Regions from separate parts of the Homo sapiens genome. Here regions 1 and 2 are each linked to region 3. Evidence: promoter capture Hi-C in 16 types of primary human blood cells and fetal thymus (Javierre and others, 2016). All regions are on one chromosome and are shown on one strand. Each heading gives the region's core, a stretch centred on a gene start or on the middle of the fragment in contact. The rest is flanking DNA. Distances are from core to core; before and after follow the strand shown. Region 1 overlaps RAD51B (RAD51 paralog B). Region 2 overlaps RAD51B (RAD51 paralog B). Region 3 holds the start of GALNT16 (polypeptide N-acetylgalactosaminyltransferase 16).

Evidence for each region. The method cuts DNA at HindIII sites, captures the fragments that hold promoters and counts their contacts. A CHiCAGO score of 5 or more calls a contact.
Region 1: a contact is called between a fragment that was not itself captured here and the fragment with the promoter of GALNT16 in region 3, in 1 of 17 cell types (neutrophils). The highest score is 6.1, in neutrophils.
Region 2: a fragment that was not itself captured here is called in contact with the fragment with the promoter of GALNT16 in region 3 in 1 of 17 cell types (non-activated CD4 T cells); the score reaches 5.1 in non-activated CD4 T cells.

The regions. Positions count from the first base shown.
Region 1 is chr14:68,031,705-68,034,740 of GRCh38, reverse strand. The region is part of intron 7 of RAD51B (RAD51 paralog B); the gene reads right to left. Among named protein-coding and RNA genes, the nearest start is that of RAD51B, 210 kb to the right of the region's middle. The HindIII fragment of the contact is 5,207 bases long and covers 1-3,036 here.
Region 2 is chr14:67,878,989-67,882,317 of GRCh38, reverse strand. The region is part of intron 5 of RAD51B (RAD51 paralog B); the gene reads right to left. Among named protein-coding and RNA genes, the nearest start is that of RAD51B, 61 kb to the right of the region's middle. The HindIII fragment of the contact is 939 bases long and covers 1,161-2,099 here.
Region 3 is chr14:69,258,710-69,261,945 of GRCh38, reverse strand. It overlaps GALNT16 (polypeptide N-acetylgalactosaminyltransferase 16), which reads right to left and starts at 1,788. Exons shown (of 15, transcript NM_001168368.2): 1 at 1,479-1,788. The coding sequence starts at 1,655. It overlaps GALNT16-AS1 (GALNT16 and EXD2 antisense RNA 1), which reads left to right and starts at 1,419. Exons shown (of 4, transcript NR_184249.1): 1 at 1,419-1,656. RefSeq lists a silencer at 683-742. The HindIII fragment of the contact is 12,811 bases long and covers 1-3,236 here.

The sequences.
Region 1 (3,036 bases), core at 85-2,584, 1.2 Mb after region 3:
AACAAGAGATTTACCTTTTTTGCTAAAAGTGGTATTTGTATCTGCCTGAAATGATGAACAAGGGACATCCATTATTTAATTAACTCTATTTGATGTGAATTTTGTATCAAATGGGGTTATATAAATAAACTATCTTTTCAACATTCTTATTGTAGGCTTAAGAAGACAAATAGGCTGGGCACAATGGCTCACATTTGCAATACTTGTACTTTGGGAGGCCAAGGCATGAGGATCACTTGAGCCCAAGAGTTCGAGACCAGCCTTGGAAACACAGTGAGACTCTGACTCCACAAAATACAAAATTAACTGGGCATGGTGGCAAGCACCTGTAGTCCCAGCTACTCAGGAGCCTGAAGTAGGAGGATTGCTTGAGCCCAGGAGGTAGAGGCTGCAGTAAGCTGTGAGTGTACCACTGCACTCCAACCTGGGTAATAGAGCAAGACCATGTTCCCACCCCACCACCAAAAAAAAAAAAAGCAGATGATTCTTACTGATCTTAAAACGTGTCTAATCTATTCTGGGTCAGATAAGAACTCTGACAAATCCTGTATTCCAGTAGTATGAAAAGTCAGTAATTGCAAAATGAGAAATATTTCCAATTATTTTTTATCCAAGGTGCACCAAAAAAATGAACAAAATCCCCCCCAAAGCTACATTAACAACTGGTAAAATATAGTCAGTGGTCACCTAAGAAGGGCAAGGAAAATTAACATATAGTGATTCATTTGTATCTCAGATTTTGTTTTTTTAAAAAGACTACTTTCTTAGGAACAACAATCAAATGACTGTGATTGTTCCTAAGAAACAATCAAACTCAGTCAATATCAACTACCTTCCATCATCTGTCACAAATAAACTTGAAGAAAATGCATCTTAACTGACAGTTTATGTTTCAGCTTTTCAGAACATTCATTCATCCCTGTCTGGGATGATTCAGCCCCATAGCCTACTTTGGCTCAATGGTGACTGGGAAAAAGAGGATCATTAATTTATCAACAGGTTCCACTTGAGCCATCTCCAAGCAGTCTGCGGGAAGGGCTGTGAAGTGGTCAAAACAGTGGAAGCCATAGCCTTCTGCCCTCCTCATGCTTTCTATGTAGCTTGTTGGAAAACCAGGCAGCTCAGTGAGTTTCGTTATCTTTCAGGATACACTGAATTGAAAACTGCATGATTTATCTCAACTCAACTTCTAGTTGAAAATTTCACAAAATTATCTATGTAAATGTTGTCCAAATACAGCTGGAAAAATGAATAAGAGTTGGCAGAAGTGCTGATATTAAGTGACACTTTATACTTAAAAGCATCCAAATAGAAAAAAAAAAGATTTGATGTTTGTAGTCTGGAATAAAAACAAACATAAAGAGATTTTAAAATTAGGGAATGTGTGAAGATAGAAAAATAAGAGCATGTGCTGAAAAGCAGCATTATTATTTTCCACATTTACTTATGTTTAAAGAAATATTCAAAGTTAAATACAGGAATACCATATGTAGTTCTAAACCCTAACATGTTATATAGGATGATTTTTCTCTTGCTTTAATTATTTAACAACATTTAACAAAATTTTAATGGGTGTCTACTATAGGCCAGGCATTGTGGTAGAGAATGAAAAAGACATGGCTCCTGCCTTCTGGAATCTTGGGGGGAGATAAGGAACTGTAAAATGTCATGAGCACCATGATGATACGGTAATAAAGAACAGACCACAGAAGTACCTAGCCTAAGCGAAGGTCACTCAAGGAAGTAAAGTTTAGGTTGAAACCAGAGGCCAAGTAGCAATGATCCCCAAGAAGGATCAGGAAGGCAGCAGAGGAACACTATGTGGAAAAGCTGAAATAAGAGATCTGAATGAAACTGAAAGAAACTCATCAGAGCTAGGGCATGCACAGGGTAATAGTGGTATAAGATAGAGCTGAAAGAAGAGATAAATAAGACCTGATCAAGAAGAGCTCTGCCCTAAGAGCAAGAAAACTCATTAGAATGTTTATAAAGGGAAATAACATTTCTTGTTATCACTCTATCTATAGTGTGGAGTATGGAATAGTGTGGCAAAGGGGAGAATAGTAGAAGGCTATTGTCACAATACTGTGTGAGATGATAGTGCCTTGGACTGAAATGGTAGCACCCAAAGAAGAGATGTAGAAAAATTTAGGAACTATTTAGGCAGCAGAATTATCAGAACTCTGTTTGATGATTAAATGTAGAGAGGGCAAAAGAACAAGGGCATCTGCTATTTTTCTGATTTGAGCCATGATAGATGAACTTATTGGAAGCAGAGCAAATTTGGAGAGAAAGGGGTGGAAAAGAAATAAGATTAAAAATAAAATTTGAAATGCTTGGGAAGCCAGGCTGATGTGAGAGCCAAAATAAATAGGAGATAAAAAGTGGAGAATAGCTGTGATGGTGAAGAGAGAGAGAGAGTGCTAAATACTGAAGTAGTAGAACAATTTCTTAAGACAAGAGACTCTTAATAAGGTTAGGAGCCACTAGAAAGGGAGGTAAAAATAATGCAAGGACCTTTATTTTGCATGCTTACTGTGTACCTGCTATGCTTAGCACTTTAAAGATATCACTTTTGATCTTCACGACAACTCCATGACCTAGGTATTATTATCTTCAACACACAAGAAAACTGAGGCTGAGAGATACATAATTTGCCCAAGATTTCATAGTAACAGACACAAATTTGAGTCAAATCAGACACAAAGCCTGATTGTAAAGTCCATGCTCATAATCACTAGGCTACATACAGAATTTGGGAGAAAGATAGAATCAGAGAAAAATCAAAATCCTTCTAAGGTGAATGTGGATGGAACCTAGGGTTTTAGGAAAAGAAAAAAAGTCATATCATTCAGAGCAGAAGCAACAGAGGAAAATAATCATGGGAGAATATTTGTAGTTTTGATGGTAAATGAGGAAGAAATTTTCCATCTCAGATTTCTATTCTTACCATTGACTTGGAAATAGTTATTTGCTGAGGATCAAGATAGAAATGACATGTAAGATGTTTGAGAAGAGTGGAAAATATCTGAAACT
Region 2 (3,329 bases), core at 381-2,880, 1.4 Mb after region 3:
AAGGTAGGTGTAAAAGAAGAGAGAATAGTTCCAAGAAGCCAAGTGGGCTGGGCATGGTGGCTCATGCCTATAATCCCAACACTTTAGGAGGCCAAGGCAGGAGGATCTCTTGAGCCCAGAAGTTTAAGACCAACCAGGGCAACATACCAAAACCTTATCTGTACTAAAAATTAAAAAATTAGCTGGGCATGGTGGCATATGCCTGTGGTCCCAGCTACTCGAGAGGCTGAGGTGAGAGGATTGCTTGAGTCTGAGGGGTCAAAGCTGCAGTGAACCATGATAGCACCACTGTACTCCAGCCTGGGTGACAGAGTTAGGTGAGAACCTGTCTAAAAAAATAAAAAGTCAAGGGAAGAGAGCTTTTCAAGAAAAAGTGAGTGATCAACTCTTTCGAATGCTGCTATTGGGTTGGATAAAATTTTTTAAATCAGTTGCATTATAGAGCTGGAAACTTAAGCCTGGATAGAGTGAACTCAAGAGAGAATGAAAGAAGGGATTTCCACTTTAGCCCACAAAGGATTAACTGGTACATGAATTGCACTAAAATAATAAGTAGAAAATCAGACAGAATACATGAAATAAGAGTTTTCAGGTACTGAACAATAGAAAGCTTGAGACTGTAATCCTTGAGAGAAAGGAAACAAACACAATGAGCTTACAATCACCTCAGTTTGCTCCAGAGGCAGTTTCCAGGCTGCAACACAAGAAAGGGAAAGTAAACAGAGCCTGGTAGACAACCTGAGTTGAGGAGATGGGGATCGGAGTTTGGGAAAGCTAAGGTGGCTAGAACTTATGGGGCAGAGTACCAGAGAGGAAGCAGGTGTGCAGAGTGAGCACTGCAAAGATCTGCAGAGAGGGCCACTTGAGAACTAATCTGCACATGTGTGAAGGGAAACTACTTGAGGTTGAGGAAAGAACCACCAGAAAGTATCAGACTGAACACTTCCTAGTGCCCACACAGGGTGAGAACAGTTCGGGTTTACACAAGGTGAAGAATAAAGAGACCTTATTATACACTGGGCATTGGGCAGAATTTTCAGAAGGATTTTACCTTAGTAGTGAAGCTAAATAAGTTTCAGAATAAAAAACCACAGTCATGTGCTGCATAACGACATTTCAGTCAATGATGCATCACTTATACAACAGTGGTCCCATAAGCTTATATAGTATATTTTTACAATACCTTTCCTTTGTTTAGATACACAAATACTTACCATTGTGTTGTAATTGCCTATTCAATACAGTAACATGCTGTACAGGTTCATAGCCTAGAAGCAATAGGCTATACCATATAGTCTAGGTGCGCAGTAGGCTATACCATCTAGGTGCATGTAAGTACACTGTAGGGTGTTCATACAACAATGAAATTGCCTAACAATGCATTTCTCAGAACATATCCCAATTGTTAAGCGAAGCATGACTGTACCTGGGATTTTTCCATAACAACATAGAAAAGCAACCTGCAAAAGGATCAAACTAATACTAAAATGTACCTTAAAACAAAACCTAACACTCTTGAAAAACATATGTTAAAATCCAGCACCCACCAACAACGTAAAATTTACAATGTTTAACATCGAATTGAAAAATTACCAGACAAGTAAAGGAAGAGGAAAAGATCCATTACCAGGAGAAAAATCAGTCAATAAAAACAGATTTAAAAAATTATATATATGATGGCATTCATGGATAAAAACCTCAAAACGGCTATTATTAATCTTCTACATTTGCTCAAGGAGTTAAATAAAGCAGGGGTTGTCAAACTGTGCACTATGGCCCATTGCCTGTTTTTGTCAATAGAGTTTTATTAGAACACAGACATATTTTTAATATTCTGTTTGACAAAATAGAAGCACTTCTACTACATTCTGAAGTACAACCATTGTCTCAAGGAAAAACATCTGTACAATTGGGTTCTCAGACTAAGAAGTCACTTTTTCCATGGGAGACCATTTTTACTTGAAAGAATGATTGATAGATAAGTTATGGTTTTTCTGACTTAAGTATTTGGTAGACGTTTTCTCAAAATGAGCAAAGTAAGCCCGACACTTCAAGAAAAACAAGTGGCAATATTTATTGCCAATGATAAAATTCAAGCTTTTAATGAAAAATCAGATTCCTAAAAAACTTACATCTGCTACCATGAGTTTGACTGCATCCCAATACTTAAATACTTTTTGTTCAGATCAGTGGAGATACTAATGAAATTTTTTTATATTGAGTAATAAAATGTGTCAACATTTAGAACTCCATAAGACAGTGAACCAATATTTTCTGAGTGATAAATGCATAATATTACAAAATCATGCATAGGTAAATATCCATTAAGAGCCTAAGACAGATGAATAGATTTTAATGTAACTGTAGAAAAAATGCAATAATATGGTTTCAGATTCTATATCACAACTAACCTCTAAGCAACTATTACTCAATTCCTGGTGTAGTATCAAAGAAGCATATCTTTAATTATCTGAAGAGACTATTAAAATATTCCTCCCTTTCCAACTATAACCAGTATAAGGCCAGATCTTCATATCTCAACCAAAACAACAGAGTGCAACAGACTGAATGCAGAAGCAGATATTAGAATCAGGCTGTCTTCTATTAAGTCAGACACTAAAGAGATTTGCAAAAACATAAAACAACGCCACTCTTTTTTCACTTTTTTTAGTCAAAAATGTATTTATTTTCCATAAAAAATACATGTAAAGTCCAGGTGCAGTGGCTCACATCTGTAGTCCCAGCTACTCAGGAGGCTGAGGCAGGAGGCTCTCTTAAGTCCGGGAGCTGGAGGTTACAGTGAACTATGATCATGTCACTGCACTCCAGCCTGGGTGACAGAGCGAGGCCCTGTCTCTTAAAAAAAAAACAAAAAACAAACAAAAAATATATGACAGTCAGTTTTGTGTCAACTTGGCTAGTCCACAGTCTCCTGTTATTCAATCAAACACTAATCTATGCATTGTTATGAAAGGATTTTGTAGATGTCATTAATGTCCATAAACAGATGACTTTAAGTACTAGAGATTATCCTACATAATCTGGGTGGGCTAATTCAATCACTTGAAAAGCCTTAACAGCAGAGCTGAGACTTCCTTTAAAAAGATGAAATTCCACCTATGGACTACAGCTTAGGCCCTTGCCTGAGAGTTCTAGCCTGCCCTTTCCAACAGCCTGCCCTATGGATTTCAGACAACTCCACATCTGCATATGCCAATTCTTTGCAATAACTCTCTTAATATATGTTCTACTGGTTCTATTTTCCTAATGGAGCCCTGTTTGGTACAATATGCTAACATGTAATGGCCAGGCACAGTGGCTCACGCCTG
Region 3 (3,236 bases), core at 539-3,038:
TCTGTCCAAAGGGCGACAAGTGCTTTGGAAACAGTGTCCTGGGAGAACAGCCCAGAAGGGAACAGTGCACCTAATCAGGCTTGCCCCCAGAGAGTTCACCCAGACTGGTATCTAGGACAAAACCCACAACCTCACCCCCCCGCCCCAGGTCTCCTCAGGCAAAGCCCTGAAATAATGTTTCCTTTGCAGGGGACTCGGAATCTGGGGCAGGATGGGAATATGAGGGGACACTCTCCAATGAACTTCCCGATATTCCTGGGGTTCAGATCCGCGTCTGGATGCGTTTCTCGGATTCGGCTCCACACAAGCCTCAGCCCTCCGGACCTTGCACCTCCCCCGCGGATCTCCTCACCCCTCCACCCCCAGGCCCAGATCTTTCCTTGTCGGAATCGCCACGCTTCCTCACTCCTTTACCCCCGCCCCACTCGGCTCTCCTCTTCCTGGTCCTCATCCGGCCAGGCTGCCCCGCCCTGGTAGTTCCCGAGGGTCGTCCGAGGCTCTCGTCCACCAACCGCCCCCGTCTGGAAGAATGCGCCCGCTCGAGCGCACTCTCGGCGGGTGCCAAAGCCTCCCGCCTCAACAGGTGCCCCTGCCTGGCCACGCACAGCTCTGTCACCTGGGGCTCGGACGGAGACGGCGACAGGATCGCCCCCTGCAGGGCGGCTGCGGCTCCGCACGCCCCCGCCCGGGTCCCCAGAGCGCCAAGGGCCCCCGCAGCCCCGCCGCCGCCCCCGCTGTGCCACACTGCCTTTGTTTCCCTGCCCGCTTAGATGTCGCGAGGCTGACTTCATGCAAGGGTATCGCCAAGTTCGGGCGCTGACACTGCCCACCTACCCGTGGTGGCGGACCCTAAGGTTGGGAGTGAGAGACGCGTACAGTGCGAGACCTCTCCTCAACCCAGAGAACTCCGGGGAAGCTGGGTGTCCGCGCCGAAGAAGCGGGTTCAAGTTGACCCGGCTCAGAAGGGGGTTCGAAGCCAGGCGCAGCGCCTAGAGAGCCTTCCCCTACCCACGCCCCCACCCGATGTCCTCTGCCCCCAGAAGGCTGGAGAGGGGCTGCGCACTGCCACCTACGCGCTCGGCTGCGAGTGGTTCCCACCGCCCGCTCGCCGCGCGCTGGGCCCGGCAGCCTTCCGGGGCACACGAGGCTCCCGCAGCCCCCAGACTCCCGGCCCCGGCAGCGCAGAGCCGGGAGAGCCGCCACGTTCCCAGCCGCGCGCGCACGCCGGGCCCACCAAACTTGCAGCACTTTCTCCCAGCCCCCACCCTCTGTCACCCTCCCTTAGTCGGTGCGCCCCAGCCCCGCCGCCCGGCAGAGGTTGCCATAACAACGGGCAGGAATGCTCCAACATATACAAAGCCGGCCCGGCGCAGCGGGCACTCAGCCCTGGCCGGGCCCCGCGCCCTCGGCCGCCGCGCAGGGTCTGGACGCGCGCCGCGGCTCCCTAGCCGGCCGGCCGACGCTCGGGGCGTACTCACAATGAGCGGGATGGTGCGGTCCTCGCGGAGCTGCTCCGACCTCCTGCCTGCCCTCTGCGCGCCCCGGCCGCCGGAGGATGCTGCGTGGGCTCGGTTGTCCTGCCATAAGTAGTAGAAAGTGCCCAGGATCCAGGCTACGGTCAGGATGGCGATGGCATTGGCGCGGATCTTCCTCATGGTGGGCAGACGGGCGCCCCAGGTGGGGGACTGGGCCGGCGTGCTCTCGGGGCCGGGGCGGGGGCGCTCGCAGCCCCAGCTGTTTGTTTTCGCTCGCGCCTAGCTGCTCAGTCCTGCAGAGCAGAAAAAGGAGAGAGGTGGGGGGGCGGGGGGGTGATAGGGAGAGACAGGATCGCGGAGCGATCCTCACGGTCCTAATGCCCTTCAGCCCCGAGCGCGCGCGTCCCCCGGGCGCCCATTCATTCGTGCGCAGGGCCGGCCCCGCGCTCCAGCCGCCGCCGGCTGACCCACCAGGCCACTGCGCACTGGGAGAGAAGCGCGCCGAGTGGGAAGCGGCGCGGGCCTTCCTCCCGCGCCCGGGAACCCGGCGAGACAGACGCCCGCGGCGGAATGGCGACTGGCCAAAGCCAGCCTCGGCTCCCACCGCTAGGTGACCGAACGCCCGGCAGCTGCCCCCGCGCGGCCCTGGTCGGTCCTGCCGACCCACACCCACCCCCGGACCGAGCGGCCTTGAGTCACCGACTGGAGACGCGCGACCCCCGACCTGGGCCCGCGCCGCGAGCTGCAGTTCCGGGCTGCGCTCTGGCGCGGGATTCAAGGTGTGTTCGGCGAGTCCTTGTGTAGGGGCGGCTGGGCGGGGGAGAGTCCTGAGTTTGTACTGGAATCTGCAGCTGAGATTAGCCAGACCGGGCCCGCCCAGAGGAGGGATTGGAAGCTGGTGCACTTGACATTCGAAGAGCGCGAAGGGGAAACGACGCTGCCTCACACCCAGTGCTAGGAGAGTGCGGGTACGGCCCTTCCACATTTTTCGCTGGCCTGGGGCTCCCAGATTTCACGATGCTTCCCTCTATCCCGCCTCATTGACCCCTGGACAACCCTGAAATATCATCGTCAGCATTATTTCATCGGAAAGAAGGGCAGCAAGAGAGGCCGGATGATTCTCCCAAGGCCACACAGCTAATTAGTGGGCAGAGCCCAGTCTAGAAGCCATCTCACCATCTGACACCTTTCGACAAAGTGCAAAACGCGGTGGTGAGAGACGAGGACACAGACATTAAGATTCCGCTCCAGCCCTAGAGGCACTGAGAATCAGAACGTGAACTACTCTTCACTCCAGGCAGAAAGCAAGAGGCTTGGATGAGTTTTAGGAAACCAGCACAGTGTCGGGCACAGAGCGCTCAATGAATAGATGTGTAACAACAAAGTAGGGATCCAACAGAGGAAGAAATAATTTATTGTAAGGTGGCCTTTGGGAAAGCTCTCAGAAAGGTGGATGAATCACTTAAGAGGTAAGGAAGGGGGAGGTGAGGACAGGGGAGAGACTGCAGAAATAGGCCTTGCAAAAATCCAGAGGATGGAAGAGCTTGATGTGTTCAAGAGAGAGAGCTGCCAGGCGTTGCAGGGGGCCTAGGATTTGATAGGAGTTGAGGTTGGCCAGGCTGGGTGAGTCTGAACTCAGGAGGTCCTTGAATGCCGGGGCAGAGTTGTTGAGGAGTCTGCTTCCTGCTGGCACTGCTGGACACCATGGCTACTCCGAAGACCCACATAGGGTCCAGCCTCTAAATGAAGCCATCTGGGGAA